4 separate regions of the Homo sapiens genome follow, and regions 1, 2 and 4 are each linked to region 3. Evidence: promoter capture Hi-C in 16 types of primary human blood cells and fetal thymus (Javierre and others, 2016). All regions are on one chromosome and are shown on one strand. Each heading gives the region's core, a stretch centred on a gene start or on the middle of the fragment in contact. The rest is flanking DNA. Distances are from core to core; before and after follow the strand shown. Region 1 has its middle 200 kb from the start of HIVEP2. Region 2 overlaps HIVEP2 (HIVEP zinc finger 2). Region 3 holds the start of AIG1 (androgen induced 1). Region 4 overlaps HIVEP2 (HIVEP zinc finger 2).

Region 1 (2,700 bases), core at 18-2,517, 320 kb after region 3:
TATACCCCCACTTCAGATTTGCTTTATAATGAAACAGAGCTTGATTCTAGGCTCACATAAATCCAAATGAGTATTTCACTTTCGTGTCCCATTTAGAGTAACATTCAAGTTTACAAAATGGTTCTGCTCATTGGTGGAACTCCAGTGTTGGAGAATCTTAATCACTAAATGCCGGCAGCACCCTGTCATCATAGCACCAATCAAAAGCCTCCATGAATTTCCAAAATGCCCTGGGGTGTGTTTGTGTGTGATTGATACTGCCCTGGTTGAGAACTGCTGATCTATTTGAAGCTAGAAGTTAATAAAGATGAATCGAAATTCATTAGGCAGAATTATTTATTAATCCTAGAAAACTTGTCCTCAATATCATAGAATCAAACATTTTGAGTATTATGTCTAAGAAACTATTTCAAAGCATTTGACAGTTTCTATAAGCACATTTTGAATATAGTTGCTGACACATAAATATATCTATAATGTGTTAAGACTATTACTATTTAAGTCAATTTAAAAATAATGATGTCAAAACTGCTTTTGTTACTACTGTGTTGCTGCTAATACTAAGATGATTGCATTCAAATCAAAGTCACTCAGACACCAGGATCACTCCTATTTCTACTACGCTACCGTAGCCCATGTAGTCTCACCATGACCACGTTTATTTAATTGTAGTGACATAGAGGATCTGAAAAATGCACAAACATGCAAAAATTACTTGACATACACATTTAAGGATTTTCAAATTGACCTATACCAAATAGATTCATAGGAGTAACTGCATTTCTTCATTCCCTTCATAAACCAAGCTGAACACTCCAGACTGCTCTCTATACAACTGTGCACTTTTCCTGTTGCCAGTTGAATTGTGTGCAGTTGAATTCAATCCCATACCAATGTATGCAAGTTTTGTGGATTATTATAATTACTTGATTTAAATTCCACATGAATCTATAAAATATGAGTGCAAAAAAGAGTGCTTTTATCTATGGCTGTTAAGTTAAATGCTTTGGAAAGAATAAGGAAAGGTCATTAAGAAAGTGGCAATTGAATTATGTGTGGGCAATTAGAAAAACTAAAAATTAAAAATGACTCTGCCTCCAATTTGTTACTGAATGTCTTCCAATACTCATTCCACTTTAAACAAGGTGAAATTATCATTTTGGCAATGTATTATAGTTAGATTGTATTTATGTTACCTGACTGGATCTCCAATCACAGCCCAAAGCTGAAACGGAAGATGGTACACCACTCTCCACCAAAGGATGACAAAGATGCATGTACATTTCAGAATTTTTTAAGTTAAAATATTTAATGTATTATGTATCAACTTGTATGATCCATTGTCATTTTAAAATTAATCTGCAATTAGTTCTGATTGCATTATGTAAGACTACTTTTCCTATGCATCACTTTTCTAGAATTTAGGATGGTATCTCCAAACCACAACAGCTAATAATGGTATATTCGCATATAGGATAAATTAGAGAGATACATATCATTTGTTTCTCTTTATAACTTTGGGTCCAGGATAAATGAATGTGGTAAATAAAAATAACCTCTCTGTCCTAAATTCCTGAACAAAATAATAAAGACAAAAGCCAAAATATGTAAGGAAAATTCCAGAATGAATACTTACTGTTTTCTCTCCTAACCATCTGTTTCCACATTAATCAATCATCTTCTATTTCATGAGATGGATAGGAGAGATTAATCATCTGCACCTTAATCTAAAAATGAAAACATTACCATAGAAACCTTCTTTTCACATTCTTTAACCATGAGTGAGAGCTCCGAATTAAAATATCTATTTTGAGGCCAACCAGTAACTATAAACACCAATAAAAACAAATGCTGCTGGGTCGGGGAAGATGGCAAGAATGAGCAGGAATGGTATTTTGGAATGCCACTTTCTTTCATTCCAAATTTATGAGAGAAAGACCTGCCCATTTTTTAGGTACACTATATGCCATCCAACATTTTGAACTTGGACGTGCTCCAGAAAATCCGTACTAGCTCCCCCTTTCAGTTTCTGTAAAATTCCAAGAACAAATCCTTTGCTGTTTCCTTAGTTACTCTAAATAAGGTGTCATCAATATTTAAAGAATGGAGATCTTGGAAAGTATGGGATGACTCCAGAGCCAGGCCTTACACTTCTCTTCATTCTACCTCCTTCCTTCCGAATGCTGCATGCTTCCAGATTTACAGGTGTATTAGTCTGTTCTCATGTTGCTAATAAAGACATACCTGAGACTGAGTAATTTATAAAGAAAAGAGGTTTAATTGACTTACAGTTCTGCATGGCTGGGGGGAGCCTCACAATCATGGTGGATGGCGAATGAGGAGCAAAGTCACGTTTTATATGGCGGCAGGCAAGAGAGTGTGTGTAGGGGAACCATCAGATCTCATCAAAAGTATTCACTATCACAAGAATAGCACAAAAATGACCTGCCCCCATGATTCAATTCAATCACTGGGTCTCTCCCATGACACATGGGAAGTATGGGCACTACAATTCAAGATGAGATTTGGGGGAGACACAGCCAAACCATATCAACTGGTCTCTACATTTGGTGATACACCTGATAAGGTGGCAGGTAGAGTTGGAGTTGGAAGAAATGGCACTGGGGTTATTTATAAGATGCAAAACATTCATCCTCTAGTTGTCTGTACTCCTTGAAAGAAGAGTACCAGGCCATCATC
Region 2 (2,700 bases), core at 20-2,519, 260 kb after region 3:
TTCATATCTTACAATGATCTAGTGATTTTCATTTTCATATTGTTTTCACATATGGAGATTCACTTAGTTCTTACAGTAACCCAGGAAGATAGCAGGGCAGGAATTATTGTGTCCATTTTATAGATGGGAAACCAAGTCCCACTAAGTGGAAGTGACTTATACAAGGGTACATAATCAGGAGAGCTGAATTGGTCTGCTAACTGAGAGGTGATGTGGAAATACTAGATCTGGAGTAAAAGAGAATTCGCTTAGATTCTTGTAATTACTGGCAATCACTATCTCAGTGATCGTTGGCCTTATTTAGCTTTTGCAAGTGAGAATGTTATCTAACTTTCTCAAGTGAGAATTTTTTTTTTTTTTTTTTTTTGAGACAGAGTCTCACTCTGTCTCCCAGGCTGGACTGCAGTGGCACAATCTCATCTCAGCTCACTGCAACCTCCGCCTCCTGGGTTCAAGCAATTCTTCTGGTGAGAATGTATTTTATAGTCTGCTGACATTTGCCTTAATCTAGTGTTCTTTTCATGCTATCATAGTACCTCTTAACTGAAGGTATTGTGTGTATTCCCTCGTTTTTTTTTTTTTTTTTTTTGACACTGGCCACTGCTTGACCTCATACCTGGTGAGTCCCTGGGAAAGGTCCTCTCTTCTGACCTGCAGAGAACATCAGAACTGAATAGACAGGGCAAGCCGAGCCATCACATGGGCTACCCTGGCCTCTTTTCCTTGTGCAGGCTCAGTCCATTATGTTCCCCACACTATATAGTGAGGTGACTCCTACAGTATTCACTCTGGTCAAAATGTAGAGGTTTCTGCCAGTTATCACTATGTAACTAGTCTTTGTCAAGAAATGCCATTATTTACTCATTAACATCAAAAAGCAACAAAAGATAAAATTATGATCTTCTAAAGCTATTGTCTGTTATAGCACATGACCTTTCTGAGCCGTTTGGATTAGCCTAGGGAGAGACACTCAACATCAGAACAGAAGGATCTTTCCAGTTTTATATAATAGAGCCAGTTCTTTGAATTATTTTCATAGATCTAAATATCTTCTATGCATTTTGAGGGATTCCTCCTCCTAAGCCTCTCAAATTCTCCTTTTTTTATTTTCTGTTTATCATCCCTGAGAATATTAAAGGGAAGCATTTCTAAGATTTTAGTTGCTGGTTTTAAATTTTAATCTCTCTCAATAAAACTAAATCATTCTCATCAAAAAGATACTTATCACTCTAAGCAGAAAATGTATTCTTTTATAAATTTACTTGTGATTAGTCATGCATTTCTTGTTTCTGAGCATATTAGGCATATATAAAAATGAAGGCCAAATACTTAGAAACTTAAGATGATTAGCTTGGAAAGGAACCCATTGTTTCATAGAGAAGCATAAATCCAGTGAAGATGCCATCTGACAGTTAGAGTCCCACCATATTAAACTTGAATTCTGCACTTTGCATACTAGAGGCAGAGGTGCTTAGTAAGTGTTAATAATGACTAATATGATACCATGGTTGTTAATTGAATATTGTCATCTAAAAATTGAAGTAGTAGACATGCACTTCAGCAGCTCAATGTGGTGATGCTGTCTTCCTAGGTTTAATTCCTCAGATATTTGTGAGCTATTAAGACCATTTATTCCACACCAGCCAAATGCAGACATTTTCAGTGTTTTTTGCTGCCACCTGGGTGTGTGGTAGCCCAGACAATAAATCTGAAGTAAAGGGAAAATATTTGCTGCTTAGTCTAATTTCTGGGAAAGTTCTTGGGAAAAAATGAGGTTTTTCAATATGCTAGGAAAAAAATAGCCTTTAGCAATTTGACCCTGGTTTGAGAAGACTCTTGGTCATTGGCATTAAGTGATATATGGCTTTTCATGCACAAATGAGCAAGGAAAATTTCAAACTAATCAGCGATGCTGGGTTCCTGTCATGGACCTGGTGCTGATGTATCATTCCCTGCTAGACTGCAAAGGGACTATGTTTGTGGACTAACTGCATCTTAGCCCAGAGGCTCCCCTGCTGTTTGATGTCACTAGTTTGCTATTCTACCACCTTGAACTTTAATTGCAGTTTCAGATAGCATTATAGAAGTTAGTTGACAACTCTGATGTTTGGGACTTCAATAAGGTTTTGGGGAAAACATGCTTTCAGCAGGTGTTGATTTTTCAAATAATTTGTTGATGTTGCAGCTGTCCACTGATGACCAGAAATTTACTAATTTTTAGTCACTTCAATAGTGACTAGTGACAATGAATAGTAATATGAATATTCATTTCTTCCAAGAAGAGATAATGCCTGATGCTCTGTCTCCTCTTTTCTTAGTGGTTTAGCCCCTCAGCAAGAAATGGCTGTCCCTGAAATGGACAAGATTCATATTCCTATCTGTCTTTTAAGGATGCCTAGGTGTTACCATAGATAGCGCTGTCTCCTCCCGGGCTGCACTTAGGACGAGAATGTTGTTTCCCACTGACAAGCCAAAAAAATGAGTTACATTTAATGGCTAGTCATTATGACATAATACAAGAACAAACTCCAAAGCAGGAATTTTGGCATTTATATTCTATGTAGTAATGTTTTGTTTATGAAATACATTAAGAACAGTTTGCCTTTTCAGCATTTCATGCTTTAAGTAATATTTCATGTTTTCAGTATTTCACCTGTGCTAAGACAAAATCTACAGATATAAACACATATTTCACATGTG
Region 3 (2,700 bases), core at 144-2,643:
TAAGGGTATGTGCACAGTTTGGAGACTGCTGGGCAACAGAATTGAAATTCCACTCTGAAAGTATCTAATATAATGCAAATATAAGGTGTTATTTTTAAACCAAAAGCCTCTCTGCATTTCTTTGAGGCATCCTAAGCCTTTGGAAATTTTTAAAACAGGTATCATGTTCTCTTCATCAGAATGGAGGGTCAACAAGAGATTATAATCTTGCTGGTGTAGCCAACCAACTGTATAGTCTTGGATAAACAGTTCAGGGAGTCCCAGGAATTGGTTCTACAATTTCTCTGAGTGCTTTAGAACTTCATTGCTTTTGTTTTAAGCCTCTTCCTAATAATCTTTTAGCGTGTGTCTTAGTCACCTTTACCCTGAAATTCCTAGGTCCATCCATGAGTTCATTATTGGGCCTTATGCCCATGTTCTGTTCTCCAGGGAGGTTGAAGAGGGCCTTTTAGTGCCAGAAATAGAAAAACTTTCAAAATGATATACTAATAATAACCTGCACCTGTCAAGATTATCATATTGTGCCAACAGAGGAGCTGCTTATGCAAACTACTGTAAATTTGTACATGGGAAGACAGAGAAGTGTGTACAGTCACCTTGGAAATGCACTTTGAACATCTCTGTCTCCTAATATGTACGGGGTAAAGGTTGAAAGTAAATTATTGACAATGGGGGAAAAAAACAGATGCAAAGAAGACAACTTTATTAGGTGCTTTCTCTCCCTTATGAGAAGGATTTGGTTCTTTCAGGTGAAGTTCCAAATCACTAGACAATACCCAGTTTCCTTCAGTTGCAACAAGTTCATCCCACGGTGGGTGCTCTGAAAAGCACCTTGAGGGCGAATGGGTCTCAGGCCATTCAGGATCAGGTCCGATGCTTTTGTTGAAGATTCTTCCCGTGTCACCTCTTAGAAGCAGTTCGGTGTCCCCCTCCAAAGAGCCCACCACCTGGCTGCGCCCCACCTCCATTTGTCCCCCAGTTGCCAGGTAAGGGTACCCAGCTACCAGGTAACGGTGAGTGGTTCAGAAGGTGCCGCTGCGGGGGCAGCCAGGCCTTCACACGCAATCACTGGGGAAGAGGCGAGGACACGGGTGGATGCTGGAGGCGCGCACGTGCGCAGGTGCTCGCGCATCCACACACACACACACACACACACACACACACGCACACACAGGCACGGGGTGCGGGGCGAGCAGGGGGAGGGGACGGCCTTACCAGATCAATGAACGTCAGGAATTTCCAGCTCCCTCCGTAGGTCTGGTGTGAGGGCATTTCGATGGCCTTGTAGTTACACAGGATAGAGCAGTAAGACAGCAGGATTGCCATCCGCAGCACCTGGCAGGGGACAAGCGCCATGTTCGCCAGAGGCCTGGACCGGCTGGGCGGCAAGGAGGGCGGGCGTGAGGGAGGCGCCGGGCGCGCGGGGGCGGGCGCCGTGGGAACCCGGGCGCGGGCGCGGGCGCGGGGCGGGGCGGGGCGGGGGCGGGGGCGGGGGCGGGGCGCGCGCCCCCGGGGACTGGCGCGGCCGCGAGCGCCCGGGTGACCTGTACTGGCCGGGCGCGGTTTGCGGACGCTCTCCACTGCCGGCCGCGGCCTGGCAGGCGGCGTGTCGTCATCTCTTTCGTCACCTTCGTCATTCTGCTCCTGCGTTCGCAGGGTCCCGGGACACCCGGCCAGGAGGCGCCCCCTAGGCATCCCAGGTGTGGATGCGACCTCTGAGTGCTACGAGGGCTCGGGAAGTGCGCGCTGATCTCCAGGGGGAAGCGGGCCCTGTGGCTAGTGGGCGCCGGGCCGGGCGAGGGGGCGGGGAACCTAGACTGAAGGAGTGGACCCCAGTGTCCACAAATGTTCCCGCCCCGGAATCGCGGTGACGCTTCCTGGGGTAGTTGCAGTTGGCCGAGAGCTGGTGCCCCGTGCGGAGGGATCCGGTGGGGGTGTGAACGTGGGGTGTAAACCCGAGCACAGGCAGCCGCGAGTGACTTTCAGTATTTTGGGGCAATAAGGTTTTCAGTGTTGACAAACGACTGTCAATCACTAGGAAACTCTCTCAATTCTGCTTTCAATGGGTAGGCTACGCAGCACTTTTCCATGACAGATTGAATAATGTCATATCAGTATATAACATCAGCTAGAATATGAACTTTGGACAAGAGGTTTATAGATAAAAAGCTATAAAGAAAGGATTTTCAAATAACTTTCTGCCACAAGATTGCATTCAGCTTTAAAAAATTCCAATTTTGGATGTAAAACCCCTGCGTGTAATTTAATACTAATCATCTGGTTGTTAAACTGGTTTTGCCCTTACTTTTTTCTTACACTACACTACCAGGGCTTAATGGAAGGAAAATAAATATAAACTGGAGTCCCTCCTGCCTTCCAGTAAATGTTGTCACACTGAAGTTGCATCAGTCTGTGGGCAACATTTTCATTTCAGCCAACCAGTTGCAGGTTCGGATTATGAAAAGGCAACATAGGTATTTCCTGTGGATCCATTTAAAACAGGTGTCCTCTTCAAATAGTCTCTGAGTCAGAGGATGTGGAGGGAGGGCTGGTGGGGAGAAGCATAGTGCTAGAGGTAAAGAGAAAGTAGCAAGCAAGCCATGGATGTTTTCCTGAATGTTTCCAATCAAGCTCTAAACTAAAATGAAGAGACCCACTAGATTTTTTTAATTGGCATTATAATTATGCTAATAGAACTGA
Region 4 (2,700 bases), core at 56-2,555, 300 kb after region 3:
TGGTAGATATAAGTTTTGATAAATAGGAGGAGTGGGGGCCTGGAAATATTTCTGTTTGGAATTATTCAAAACAGCATGTAAAATTTATAAGTATATAAGCAATAAGTAAATAATAAAGCAATATGAGTAAAATAATAAACAACAGTGTCCCAGTTTTAACTGTGGCTCATATATTACATGAACAGCAAGCTGAACACCCCTACCAGAGGAATAAACTGTGCTAGCAGGCTGAGTTTCCACGGAGATTTCACAGAGCCTTCTCTTAAAGTATTTGTTGGTACATTGCTAAAGCGTTGTCAAGGGCACAGATAACATTATGGCTATTTTCACTGAAGTGATGTAAAGGCGCCTTACAACTGAATTAGTTCCTGAATCTCTTTTGATAAGTTATATGGCATATAATTTATATGTATGTGTGTGTGTGTGTGTGTGTGTGTGTGTGTGTGTGTGTGTGCATTCTTCTGTAGATCCTGGGTCAACGAGGATTGGAACAATGTTTTCAAAATTTCTCACATTTCATAAAGCAGTTATACAAATTATATATATAATTTATATCCACACATGTATATACACATATAATTGTATATGCCATTATCATTATAACATATTCAGCATGAAACCTTTCTTTTTTGTTAGTGTGATAGGAGCCTGAAGATAAGTAAAGAGGGAATGTTGCTGCTCCAGAATTTTAGGAATTGCTGTCATAACTTTTGCTAACATATGCCAGACAGATAGATGCTAAATACTGGGAATAATGCTCCCTATGAGTAGTTAGCTAATTATTTGTATGGATCTTTCAGAGCACTGACAAGGTTGGCCCTCACATTAGTTTGTATGTATTTTTCTTCTGAATGGTGAAGATCCTTGGAGGTTACTCTGTACCTGATCAGTCACAGAAGGTCAGGGGCCCAGTGGGTGTGTTGAGAATATTTCATTCTGAAGTATCTCTGAGGTGTGTGGCCAGATTGCGTTTCCTGTTTCTGTGGAGTCCCAGGAGGCTGGTGTATTTGGGTAGATATGAGGTCCCTTCTCAGGCAGAAAAGCCTGGGATTTCTAGTCTTGCTTTGAGCCTACTCTTGAAAAGATGTGAGCCTGGACTTCCACATATCTTCTAGAATAAAGAATATCTGAGATTGGGCCAAAGCTCTCAGGGATTGATATCTTCAAAGACCAGATTATTCTTCTTAAGGTTGAAACAAGGGGTAGTGGGTAGAAACAAATCTGTGTTACATGATGAATTTAATAAAATTAGTTCATTTCACATTGAATTTGGAGCAGCTATCAGCAGTTATTAATTTGATAACCAATTAATTTCTCTCTTTTTTTTGCTACATTTTCAAGGAAACCTAACGAAGCATATGAAATCTAAAGCACACATGAAAAAATGCCTGGAATTGGGAGTCTCAATGACATCGGTGGATGATACAGAAACTGAGGAAGCAGGTGTGTATGTCATAAATGAGTTGACAGACCTCTTCATTATGCACAGTGGAGCTCTGTGGCTGAGGTAGTAAAATAAGTTTAGATATTTTTAAAAAGTGATCACTTTTCATTTTATTAAATACTAAATATAGAAAATAAAACTGACACATTGAATTGCTTGAAATCTACTGAGAAGAAATGCATTTCAGTTTTGACTCCGAGGGCAAAAAAGGCCTTACTTTGAAAATACTTATATTTAGAGCCTTCTATGAAGGGAATAGAATTGCACTTGCTTTGTGATAGCAAATTAGATTTTATGAGGCTTTTTGGGGAATTTGAAAAGCATTTTAATGTATTATTATTCAAGTTAAGAAGAAACCCAGTAGGAAAACAAATAAACTAGCAAACAAACATCATTAAGGTTGGCCAGACCTCCTGAGTTACATCACTTAGACATACGTTTGTACCTGAGCTTGCAGAGACAGGTTGTTGCCTTTCTTTCTCCTCTAGCATCATAATTAACATTATCCATGCTCATTTGTTGAGGGTTTTCTGTGAGTGGGATGATGTCTGAGATATAAAGTCCTACTATGGAATCTTTCTTGTAAGTTGGGGATGAAAACAAATAGATATACAAGAAGATAGAATGAACGCAGGGTCACACAGGTAAGTGCCTCATTTTATAGGAGTTCTCAGACATAACTATCTGTGGGCACTAGGGATTGGGAAAAGCGTTTAGAAAGAAATGAGGCTTAAATAAGATCCTAACCTTGATATTTGGATCTTGATCTCCATTATCTTTGTTTAATTGTTTCAGAAAATTTGGAAGATTTGCACAAAGCAGCAGAGAAGCATAGCATGTCCAGCATTTCAACTGATCATCAGTTCTCCGATGCTGAGGAATCAGATGGTGAGGATGGAGATGATAATGATGATGATGATGAAGATGAAGATGACTTTGACGACCAGGGAGATTTAACACCAAAAACAAGATCAAGAAGCACCAGTCCTCAGCCTCCTAGATTCTCCTCCTTGCCTGTGAATGTTGGCGCCGTACCCCACGGGGTTCCTTCAGATAGTTCCCTGGGACATTCTTCGTTGATCAGCTATTTGGTTACTTTGCCAAGTATTCGAGTTACTCAGCTTATGACACCCAGTGATTCATGTGAAGATACCCAGATGACAGAATACCAGAGGCTATTCCAGAGCAAAAGTACGGACTCAGAACCAGACAAAGACAGATTGGACATACCTAGTTGTATGGATGAGGAGTGCATG

Evidence for each region. Contacts are between HindIII fragments. The CHiCAGO score rates a contact against its expected background, and 5 or more counts as called.
Region 1: a contact is called between a fragment that was not itself captured here and the fragment with the promoter of AIG1 in region 3, in 1 of 17 cell types (naive B cells). The highest score is 5.9, in naive B cells.
Region 2: a fragment that was not itself captured here is called in contact with the fragment with the promoter of AIG1 in region 3 in 1 of 17 cell types (neutrophils); the score reaches 5.3 in neutrophils.
Region 4: a fragment that was not itself captured here is called in contact with the fragment with the promoter of AIG1 in region 3 in 1 of 17 cell types (total B cells); the score reaches 5.8 in total B cells.

What each region holds. Positions count from the first base shown.
Region 1 is chr6:142,739,770-142,742,469 of GRCh38, reverse strand. No RefSeq gene overlaps it. Among named protein-coding and RNA genes, the nearest start is that of HIVEP2, 200 kb to the left of the region's middle. The HindIII fragment of the contact is 7,865 bases long and covers 1-2,700 here.
Region 2 is chr6:142,799,081-142,801,780 of GRCh38, reverse strand. All of the region lies in intron 2 of HIVEP2 (HIVEP zinc finger 2), which reads left to right. Among named protein-coding and RNA genes, the nearest start is that of HIVEP2, 140 kb to the left of the region's middle. The HindIII fragment of the contact is 4,351 bases long and covers 1-2,700 here.
Region 3 is chr6:143,059,582-143,062,281 of GRCh38, reverse strand. It overlaps AIG1 (androgen induced 1), which reads right to left and starts at 1,393. Exons shown (of 6, transcript NM_016108.4): 1 at 1,216-1,393. The coding sequence starts at 1,356. RefSeq lists enhancers at 854-903, 1,504-1,633, 1,459-2,397 and silencers at 1,094-1,163, 1,414-1,503. The HindIII fragment of the contact is 5,617 bases long and covers 1-2,700 here.
Region 4 is chr6:142,760,207-142,762,906 of GRCh38, reverse strand. HIVEP2 (HIVEP zinc finger 2) reads left to right here. Exons shown (of 10, transcript NM_006734.4): 8 at 1,342-1,443; 9 at 2,240-2,700. Among named protein-coding and RNA genes, the nearest start is that of HIVEP2, 180 kb to the left of the region's middle. RefSeq lists an enhancer at 1,013-1,062. The HindIII fragment of the contact is 9,901 bases long and covers 1-2,700 here.